Linked DNA regions of Homo sapiens: region 1 is linked to region 2. The links are contacts of gene promoters, found by promoter capture Hi-C in blood cells and fetal thymus (Javierre and others, 2016). All regions are on one chromosome and are shown on one strand. The core of a region is centred on a gene start or on the middle of the fragment in contact, and the rest is flanking DNA. Distances in the headings are between cores, read along the strand shown.

What was found. The method cuts DNA at HindIII sites, captures the fragments that hold promoters and counts their contacts. A CHiCAGO score of 5 or more calls a contact.
Region 1: a contact is called between the fragment with the promoter of ELK1 here and the fragment with the promoter of TFE3 in region 2, in 1 of 17 cell types (non-activated CD4 T cells). The highest score is 8.1, in non-activated CD4 T cells.

What each region holds. Positions count from the first base shown.
Region 1 is chrX:47,647,880-47,653,202 of GRCh38, reverse strand. ELK1 (ETS transcription factor ELK1) reads left to right here and starts at 2,640. Exons shown (of 7, transcript NM_001114123.3): 1 at 2,640-2,780; 2 at 3,177-3,282. UXT (ubiquitously expressed prefoldin like chaperone) reads left to right here. Exons shown (of 7, transcript NM_004182.4): 6 at 1,059-1,122; 7 at 1,308-1,407. The coding sequence ends at 1,361. RefSeq lists a silencer at 2,456-2,865 and a cis regulatory region at 2,197-3,177. The HindIII fragment of the contact is 5,079 bases long and covers 1-4,260 here.
Region 2 is chrX:49,039,849-49,045,200 of GRCh38, reverse strand. TFE3 (transcription factor binding to IGHM enhancer 3) reads left to right here and starts at 1,844. Exons shown (of 10, transcript NM_006521.6): 1 at 1,844-2,090; 2 at 4,633-4,746. The coding sequence starts at 1,975. RefSeq lists a silencer at 1,874-2,113 and enhancers at 1,655-2,518, 5,063-5,352. The HindIII fragment of the contact is 3,845 bases long and covers 1,335-5,179 here.

The sequences.
Region 1 (5,323 bases), core at 1,391-3,890, 1.4 Mb after region 2:
CATTGACAGCACAATAAAATCCACATTCCTTATTATATTAAGACCCTGTGTGATCTAACCTCTTCCTATCTCTTGGACCTTGTCTTAGGCCACTTTCCCTCCCCACTCAATTTCTAACACTCTGACCTCACTGCTTCTCAAACAGCTCTTTGTTGCCTCTTGTCCTTTTTGTGGAAAAGGCCTTCCTACTGCTTAACCATTAGGCATTCTTCGATTCCTTCTCATTCTTCATTCTTGAGAAAGGCCTTCCTTGACCCTTTATATCAATTAGGATTCTTTTGGGCGAGATCTGATCCAAACTGGCTTAGAGAAAAGGAGTCAACTGACTGGTTCATGTAATTCAACCTCCTTCCTCTGCTGCAACCTTCCCTTGGCTCCCATCTCACTTAAGGTCAAAGCCAGGGTCCTTACCATGGCCTTGTAGGCTTCACACAGTTTGTCTCCCTCATTACCTCTCTGACCTCACCTCTTACATTCCCCCTTCACTTATTCTTCTCCAGCCAGAGTGGCCTCTTTGCTGCACCTCAAACATGCCAGGCACACTCCCACCTCAGTGCCTTTGTGTTTGCTGCCCCTTGTGTGTGGAACACATCCTCCATATAGCCACACTACTCAAAATTCACTGTCTTTAAGTCTTTACTCAAATGCTTCTCCGTGAAGCCATCCCTGAGCCCTCTTTAAAATTGCAGCCCCCCACTCCTGTACTCCTTATTGTCTCTCATTTTTAATTTTTGTTATTGTAGTTAGAACCATCTGACACATAGCTTTTATTCCATTGGTTTTTTGTTATGTCTTTCTTTACAAGAATTTGAAGTCCATCAGGCCGGGAGTTTTGTTTGTTGTGTTTGCTGCTATCTCCCAGTGCCTAAAATTGCCTGGCATACAGTAGGCATTTAATAATCTTTGAATCAGTGAAAACCAGATGGTGGCTTGGCATTTCCACATAGGAATGAGCCAGGTGGAAATCATCCAGGATATAAGTAGATCTTGAAGTGATAAGGAAGGGTCATCATAATCATGTGGGGCCCATTTTGCCCTTTCTTGTTTCTTTTCTCTAGGCTCAGCAACAGCCTCACCAAGGACTCCATGAATATCAAAGCCCATATCCACATGTTGCTAGAGGTGAGAGCAGCTCACCCCACTACCAGACTCTGTGTTTAGGGTGGTGACCTGAAGAAGGAAGAGAGCGAAAGAAGGGAAGGACCATCTTTCCCTCTAAACTGGAGTCAAGGGAGGGAGGTCAGAGCAAGCCTGGGGGCGTAACCCAGACCCAGTCTTTGTTCAATCTCTTCTGTCCTCTTTTTCAGGGGCTTAGAGAACTACAAGGCCTGCAGAATTTCCCAGAGAAGCCTCACCATTGACTTCTTCCCCCCATCCTCAGACATTAAAGAGCCTGAATGCCTTTGAGTCACATGGCCCTTCTTTTTCCCCATAAACCCTGCTAGTTGCCACGGGGGCCTGTTCCTAGGGCACAAAGTTACTGAGAGACCCAGAGATCCAGTCTCTCTGTGGAACCTCCAAAATGCCCCAGCAGTCCTGCCTCCAGCCTGTTGCCTGGCAGTATTTGCCAGTTGACCTTATGCACTGCCCTCTCTTCTGTCATCTTGGCAACCTGGGCCCCCCACCTCACCCTTTCTTCCATTCCTTTTCCTAGACGCCACCCTTTGAATTGCCATAGAGAATGGGCCAATTCATGGTGGAGGTTTGTTCATTCCCACAACAATCAAAGGGCCCTAAGGTTTACGCTTTCACACACCCAATCATTCCCCAGGTACCCCAAATTACACCCAAACCCTAACTCAGCCCTACCTTGTCTTAGCCCCTGCTTGTAAGTGTTCCAGCTTCCAATGGGCACAGACCTGGATCCCGCTCTCCCTAGTCGGGCCCCTATTCTAGGTTGAGTCCAGCCACCGCCAATCAATGCAGAGCCAGGTTCCTCCCCTTTTTAACTCTGGCCGCAGTTCAACCCTGCCCTCTGAAAGCATTTCGTTTCTGCCACTCAATGCTCTTTCGTGTGCCTGACAGCCATCCTGCCCTCCTACCTCCGCTGTGTTCTAAATTCGTCTTTACCCAGCTCTATGGTCTTGTCTAACCGTAGAGCTGCCCTGCCCGCCTACGCGGAGCCCAGTCCGACCCACTCCCGCCGGCTGCTACGCCCATTTCTATACAAGCCCTGCTTCCGCTGAGCAGCATGGCGTGCGACACCGCCCCCTTGGTGTTTTGGCAGGGGTCTAGAAGTCCCTCGTCCGCCAATCAGAGAAAAACAGGGCCACCCACCCCCGTCCTTGGGGGCTGTCTTCCATCAATCCCATGTAAGCCAATCAGTGTGAGGCAGACCCCCGCCCCCCCGACACAGGCCCCGAGCCTTTTCAGTTGCTCACAGTCCGTCAGTCCTTGAGCCAATCGGCGTGGAGCACCGTGAAGGCCGAACGCGCCTCCTCGGGACTCCAGGGGCCGTGAGCGTTCCATCATTTCCCCTTACGCCAATCACGGCACAGCTCTGTAGGGAAGGGCCCGTCCCCCAACCCCTCGAGGCCTTGCGGCCGATTAATAGCGCTTTGGCCAATCAGCGAGCGGCGGGACATTGGGCTCCTCCTCCTCGGGCCCACGTGAGCTGTAGGGAAACGCAGGGGCGGCTTCTAGGTGCTGCCGCCGCCACCGCCACCACCACCTCCACCGCCGCCTCGGAACCCAGGCCTGGGGGGCGGTGGGGCCGCGTATGGAGCCCCCGCCCCCCGGAGCTGCCAACATTGCCAACGCCACCGCCACGCTACACACAGGTGAGCTCTGGGCCTGGAGGGTGGAGGGCCCAGTCCGTGACCCCACGTATCCTTCCCGCCCCCGCGCAGAGGATGTGGCTTGGCCGGTGGCCTGCTGGTGTTCGACTCCCCGCCGCCACCACCACGGCTGGTGGACCTGCGTGTGGCATTGCTCAAGCCCTTCGTCCCTTATAGTGGATCTGACCGTGGCCTAACCTCCCCCTCCCGTTGTATAATGGATCGGTCTGCGTGCTTATGTTTTTCCCCACGCCAACTTAGGGTGGACTCGTCCATAGGCTTTCCCCCTACCCCTACCCCCACCCGCCCCCCACCCACCCCCACTTATAGGGAGCTAGCCTGTGACAGTGTTCAGCCCCCTTAATAGTAGGTGTATCTGAGTGTTTGGATTTCTCCTAGCCTCAACTTTCAGGAGACCCGTCCGTGGCCTTATTTATTCCACCCTTCCTGTACATCGTAGCGAATCAATCCGTGGCGCCGCACTCCTCCGCATCCCTCTTTAACAGTGAGTCTACCTGAGTTTGTATTCCTGCCTCCTCCAGTCCCCCAATGCATCAGTCCATGGCTTTTTTCAAAACCACCCCCCCCCCCCACCACCACCACCACCATTTTATAGTGGATCAGTCTTCATGTTTGGATTCACGTCCCTTTAGCTATCAGTCCATTGCCCTGTCTCCTCTTTTTCGTAGACTGTCGCTCTAGCGCTTGGGGTTCTCTCCTTTTTAATAGTGGGTTAGTTTAGTGCTTTACATCTCCCTATTTTCAGTAGCTCAGTCCATAGCCTTTTCCCTCTCTGCTTTGAATCAGTCTGTGTGATGGCTTTTCTCTCCTCTCACTGTGGTGCAGGAGTCTGTAAGGTTTTCTGCTCCCCTTCCCCTCAGACGATGAGCCTCATCACCCCTCCCTTTGCAGTGGATCTGTTCATTGGCCTTCCTCCCCCACACCCCTGTATGCTTGCACAGTCCCCCGCATACCCTCCCGTGAGTCCAGTGCTTTGTAATTGGGGGAAGATCGGCCGTGTACTTTCAATTTCCTTCTCTTTTTTTTTCCCTTCCCAGAAGAGAACGTGCTGATCCTCTTTTCCTTGTGATGGAGCACTGTACGGCCTTCCCTGTCCTCCACCTCTTAATAGTGGGTCAGCCTGGTCACACTCGTAACCACAAAGACGTTCTGCCTCACTACAATAAGTGAATACATTAGCGCCAGTGATGATAGTAATGCCAATAGGAGCTAGCGTTTATTGAGCACCTGCCGTATATCAGGCAGAGTGTTTCATATGAATGAGTTCCTTTAATCCTCACCACAACCCCATGAGATAGGTAGTGAGGGAATTGGGCCATAGGGAGGTTAAATTCCTTACTCAAAGGTGGCCCAGGAAGTACTCAGGACACAGGATAATTTTTGAGGCTCCCCTCTTAGATCTCATCCCACCCCACGTGAGGCCTCAGTCCTTAAAAACCAAATTAGTTCTCACCTCCAAGCTTTTGTTCTTGCTGTTCCCTCTGCCTGCAGAGCAGTCTTCATTCCTCACCTTCTCTCAGCACCCACCCACCCCCCAATCCCAGCAGCTGTGTGACCTTAGATGAGTGATTTAACCACTTCCTCTCTGTGCCTTTTTCTTCATTTGTGAAATGGGGGATCAGAACTAGAATCCCTTCCAGTGTAAATAAATATTAACTGTGAATTAATGGTAAAACAAGTAACCTTTCTAGCATTACCGCCTATACCTTCCCACCCCCTTACTGTGCTCCAACCACACTGGTTCCACCACACAGCTCCTCAAACATAGCAGGCATGGGCCAGCCTCAGGGCCTTTGCATTGGCTGTTCTTTGTGCCTTGAACACCACCCCCAGATCTCTGCATGGTTCCTTTCAGCACTCTGTTCAAATACCAACCCCCAAAGGATGTTTACCACACTGTGGTGTGTGGAATGCAGTATAAAAAGATACATGTATGAAAGATGTTTCTAAGAATGCCAGTTTATATATGAGTAAGGGTTTTCCTCCTTTTCAAAAGGATGTGTTCACAAGACTGAGGTACGTAATATGCTCTGTAAAGGCATAGGTATAAAAGCTGTTTCTAAGAGTGCTAGTTGTATATGTGAATAAGGACTGTGTTGTTGCATTGAAAGAATGTGTTCACAAAACTGTGGTGTGTAGCTGGGCACAGGGGTGTGCACTTATAGTCCCAGCTACTCGGGAGGCTGAGGTGGGAGGATAGCTTGAGCCCAGGAGTTCCAGGCCAGCCTGGGCAATATAGCGAGATCCCTTTTTCTGAAAAAAAAAAACCCAAAAAACAACCACTGTGGTGTGTGTAATACACTCTCTTAAAGGCACAGGCGTAAAAGATGTTTCTAAGAGTGATTTGATTTTGTTGTACCTGGGTAGTGTTATTTCATTAAAGGTTGATTGTCACACCATGGTACTTAGAATATACTATACAAAGGCACATGTATAAAAAAGAAGTTCCTAACAATGCTACTTGTAAAAACAAAAAAAGTCAACCCCTCCCTGACCATCTGAAGCTGCACACCCAGCAGGGCTCA
Region 2 (5,352 bases), core at 595-3,094:
ATCGAACTTCTGGCCTCAAGCGACCCACCAACCTTGGCCTCCCAAACTGCTGGATTACAGGTGTGAGCCACCGTGCCCGGCCCATTCTTACATGTTTAAGGCATCATAGGAATTTTAACATTGGATCTACAAGTTCCGTTTTAGAGTTTTGATTGGTACAATTGGTAATGTATTCTTTTTTCTTTTTTTTTTTTTTTTGAGACTGAGTCTCACTCTGTCACCCAGGCTGCAGTGCAGTGACACTATCTTGGTTCACTGCAACCTCTGCTTCCCGGTTCAAGGGATTCTCCTGCCTCAGCCTCCCGAGTAGTTGGGATTACAGGCGCCCGCCACCACGCCCGGCTAATTTTTTGTATTTTTAGTAGAGACGGGGTTTCACCGTGTTGGCCAGGCTGGTCTCAAACTCCTGACCTCAGGTGATCCACCCGCCTCGGCCTCCCAAAGTGCTGGGATTACAGGCATGAGCCACCGCGCCCGGCCAGAAGTCATCTTTATTATGTAGAGGTTTCCCCCTTGTACGAGATGGTTGTGTGTGAGTATGGATGAGTTTACGAAAGCAACTGACAGACCTGTGAAATAATGATGCCAATACAGGAAGGTCCAAGGTAAATGAAAGCCCGGTGAAATTCCTGGAGGCGCAACTCAGGGTGGGGTCTTGGGATGTCAGGAAAGAGGAAGGGAAGGCTGTAGGTCTGGGTGTTTTGTGAGCTATTTGCACCTGAGGATATATGAGTGAGACCCTCCGCCTTGTGCGAGCCGGCTTGCATGCGTCTGGCATACAGAAGCGCTCAGTGAATGTTGAATAAGTGAACAAATGAGTGAATCAACTAATTTTGGGAAGCTTCTTGTATGCCAAACAACCTGCTAGCACTTTTCATACATTATCTTTAATCCTCAGAACAACCCTGCCAGACAGGTATTTTGACCCCCATTTAACAGGCCAGGAAAGCTGAGGCTGGGAGAGGGGAGGTCCCCTTCCCTATTCAAACCTGGATCTTTGTGATTCCAGAAGTCGTCATTCACCGAAGGGACCAGATTCATTCACCCGTCAAGAATTTATTAAGCACATATTGCGCAGCGCAATGAACATAGTACAACCGCTCTCGATGGCATGGAACAGGCGGAATACTCCCGGAAGACCAGCTGGGCGGCTGGACTGCGGACAGCGAAAGGGGGGGGTTTCTGGCCCGCACCTTCAGGGAATGTAGCTGCCTCTGCCTCATAGTTATGGCTTTGGCTGAGAGAGCACAGCCAGATCGAGGTTGGAGCGCGGTCTAGGGCTCAGATATTACAAATATTGGCCGAAAGAGGGCGCGGTTCCGCAGCTAAAAGCTTGGCCAGGAGACCCTCCGTGCGCCGACTGGCCATCGATGCGCAGGCGCAGAGGACCCAAGGAGCGGCTTAATATTACCTTGCAGAGGGATAATTTGAGAAGAGAGGGCGTGGCTCCGAAAGCGACGCAAACATAGAGGCGTGGTTCAACCAAATCAACCCTCGCCTATTTGTCGCTGCCCCTGAGGGCGTGGTCTGGGTGCTGCTTCTCGGAATGAGGGCGGGCCGAATCGCGTTTTTCCTCCGCGTCGGAGGCGTCGCTTAGGGTGGGCCCTCGAATCGCCGTTCAGCGATTGGCCGCCTCGCTAATGGGTCGTGGCCAGACGGGCCATCCATCCCCAGTGCGGTCACTTCCTGTGGAGTTTCCCCATCCCTGGGAGGAGGGAGGAGGGGGAAGAAGACGAGGGGGAGGAGGGCGGTCGTCCGGGGTTAGGTTGAGGGGGGGCGTCGGTCCGTTCTGGGCGGGGGATGACTCACAGCCCATCCCATCTCCCCGACGCCGCCCGCCCGCGCAGTGCTAGCTCCATGGCTTAGCGGAGGAGGCGGCGGTGGCGAGCTGGGGGGAGGGGGGACTCTTATTTTGTTAGGGGGACCGGGCCGAGGCCCGACCGGCCTGGCAGGGCTCGCCCGGGGCCGGGCGTCATGTCTCATGCGGCCGAACCAGCTCGGGATGGCGTAGAGGCCAGCGCGGAGGGCCCTCGAGCCGTGTTCGTGCTGTTGGAGGAGCGCAGGCCGGCCGACTCGGCTCAGCTGCTCAGGTGCGGGGCCGCCTGGGGCTGGGAGTGCCGACTGGGGCTCCCAGGGGCCTGATCTCGGGGGCAGTGGGGGCCCCGGACTGGGATTGGAGGCCCTCGGCCTAGCCTTGGAGGACGTCGGGGCGCCCGTCTTGGGGGGGCACCTAAGGAATCCGGCAGTGGCCTGCTTGGATTGTGGCTTTATTAAAGGAGTCGTGGGAGTGCATTAAGCGGGGTCTGGGTCAGGTTTGGGGAGCCCTTGACTGCGTCTAGAGGGGCCTATTCTGGAGTATCCAGAAACTGGTCTGAGATAGCTGAACTTGGTAGACAGGGTCTCTGATTAGAGGCTGAATTCGGGGATTTTCAGTCGGACATGAGGGGAATGAATTTGAGGGGACACTGTCAGGTGAGGCACTGGTTTTAAGGGAATCCTAGAATCTTTTTTCCCTCAGTGTGGGAGAAGGGGTCCTGAGGGACAGAAGTGCTGTCTTGGGAGCTTGGTGCCTCTCAGTGACTGGTTGCTGTGTTTGGGGATAACATGAATCTGGAGGGATTTGGAGGTATCTCAGATATGCTGCCTGGGACCAGCCTTGTGAGTGCGTGTGAATGAACAAGAGAAGCAACATTCAGCAAGACTTGACCAGAATAATCCTTTCCCCTCTGCCCGCCTACCCAGCTGGGGCAGATCCCAAGGATAGTGGAAAAGCCCTCTTCCCACACCTGTTAAGGGCCTGAATGGAAGATAGACAGCCAGGCAGAGGGCGATGATGTTACCTCTTAGCTCAGAGGCCTCAGACCTTGTTTGGGAACCCAGAGGAGGCTCTTGTTCATGCTGCTACTCGCTCTAGCCTCTCAGCCCTTCCCACTCCCTAGCCCCACACCCCTTTTCTTTTTATCTTCTTTTCGATCTCCGAGCTCCTGGGGGTAATCTTGAATCTGTCCATAGAGCTGGAACGAGTACAGATTGCACCATCCCTGCCTGGGTGGATCCCCTCTGGCCTCTTCTCATCCTTACTTTCATCAATGGGCTTTGGAGCCCCAGCCCTCCCTGCTCACCCCAGTGCCCATCTCTTCCAACTTCTGTGCAATGGGTGTGTGAGCCCTGGGTGGGGGGGGGTCTTTGCCTCCTTTGTGCCTGGGATTGTGCTGAGCTCAGTGGCTCGCCCGAGCTTCCTCTTCCCAACTTCCTGGGTGGTTTTAGGGCTCCATCTGAGGGTGAGGAGAGGAAGGAAGACAGATCCTTGGGGAGGGGAGAGGATTCTTGTCAAGTGAAGTCACCAGCAATCTCTCAGCATTCTAAATGTTTAGCTAAATTGAAGGATGCATATTCATCCACGTGTGTGTTAACTGTCCCTTGCTCTCTGGGGCTGAGCAGAGCCTTTCTGTATATCGATTCACCATCTTCTAATTCCTCTGTAACAACCTAGATCATCGCAGTAGTGGACATAGTTAAAGGGATGGGTGTATATGGCTTCTTATTTTGTGCGCCAGTGGGTGTTAGTGTTGGGGGTGTGTGTGTGTTTTGATCTATCCAAAAAAACAGGAGAAGGCTGGGCAGGCTCCTCCGGTAAGAAAAGAATGCTTGTATAAAGTGGATCAACCACCCAAATTCTCCCTCTTGTAAATCCAGTCTGTTGGAGCGAGGGGAGCCTTTGATATTTCTATTTTATATTTAGGCATGTGTTGGCATCCCATGAACTCTGGCTGGGGCTGGGAGAAACTCATTTGTGAAATGGTAGATCTTTACGTCAAGTGAATTATTTCCAGTTCTCTTTGTGATGCATTCAGTTTGTGTTACAAGGGACTGTTATGCTGAGGGATGCCCCTACTTGCTCTGTGTGTGTGTGTGTGTACACACATATACCTGGGCTCACATTCAGCTGTAAAGAAAATAGCAGGGGGTTGGCCGGGCGCAGTGGCTCACACCTGTAATCCCAGCACTTTGGGAGGCCGAGGCAAGCGGATCTTGAGGTCAGGAGATCGAGACCATCCTGGCTAATACGGTGAAACCCCGTCTCTACTAAAAATACAAAAATTAGCCGGACGTGGTGGCGTGTGCCTGTAATCCCAGCTACTCGGGAGGCTGAGGCGTGAGAATCACTTGAACCCAGGAGGCAGAGCTTGCAGTGAGCTGAGATCGCACCACTGTACTCCAGCCTGGTGACAGAGCGATACTCTGTCTCAAAAAAAAAAAAAAAGTAGGGGGTATGGGGGCTGGGAGAACTCTGAATAGGAAGTCAGGAATCCTTCTATAAAGTGAATTGTTATTCCTAAATTCTGTTTTCCTCAAACCCAGGTTGTTACAGTGTGGGGGTTGGGATGCAGGCGTTCTTATTATTCTGACTCCTAAGGGACTATGAGTAACACAGTGGGGAAGGGAAAGGGGGATGGGGGAAGGAGGTGGGAATTCATGGTGGTGTGGTACCCAGCAAGGTGGCCAAATATGAGGGGCTTGTACCCTCCTCTTCGTTCTCCCCCCCTCTCTCTCTCTTTCTCTGTCTCAGGGGAGGGCTGGGGAATAAGGTCCTTCATTCAATCACTGACCACCACTCCACCTCCCCCTCAGCCTGAACTCTTTGCTTCCGGAATCCGGGATTGTTGCTGACATAGAATTAGAAAACGTCCTTGATCCTGACAGCTTCTACGAGCTCAAAAGCCAACCCTTACCCCTTCGCTCAAGGTATGTATGACTTGTCTATCTGATTCCCCTCCCAATTCCTCAGCCCTCCTCTCCCCTCTTGATGGGCAGAGGCCCTCAGTACCAGCCCAACCCATTCTTTCACCAGCCTGCGTTTTCTAGGTGGTAAAATTAGGGACCAGAAAGAGCATGTCACACAGGAAAGTAGGTGGCCAAGCTAGGATTCCAGTATCTCTGTCAAGACCTCCCCTGCCTGCCCCCAGCCCACCTGCACACCCATTCATATGCAAGTGTTTCAGCCTCAGGTGTTCCAGCCGGCCTGGAGTGCTCAGAGATAGGGCGTGGCCTGCTTAAACTCATGTCCCCGGGTGGGCGGGGACATGCCTCTAGCCCCAACTCAGTCCCTTCCCACACTACCAACTCACCCACCCTCAGCCCTTGAGGAGCCCCTGCTGGTCTCTTCTTTCCCCAAGCTTGGAAGTCTAAATGTGCTGAGTCATCGGCCCGGGCTCTGAGAGAGGGGAGGGGAGGGGGAAGAGGGGCAGGAAGAGAGTATTGTGAAATCTCCGAGGTTTTCAAGACTGACTAGCTCCTGGGACCAGAGGCCCAGGCAGGGGAAGAAGAGGAACCTGGGGCTTCTCCTATCAC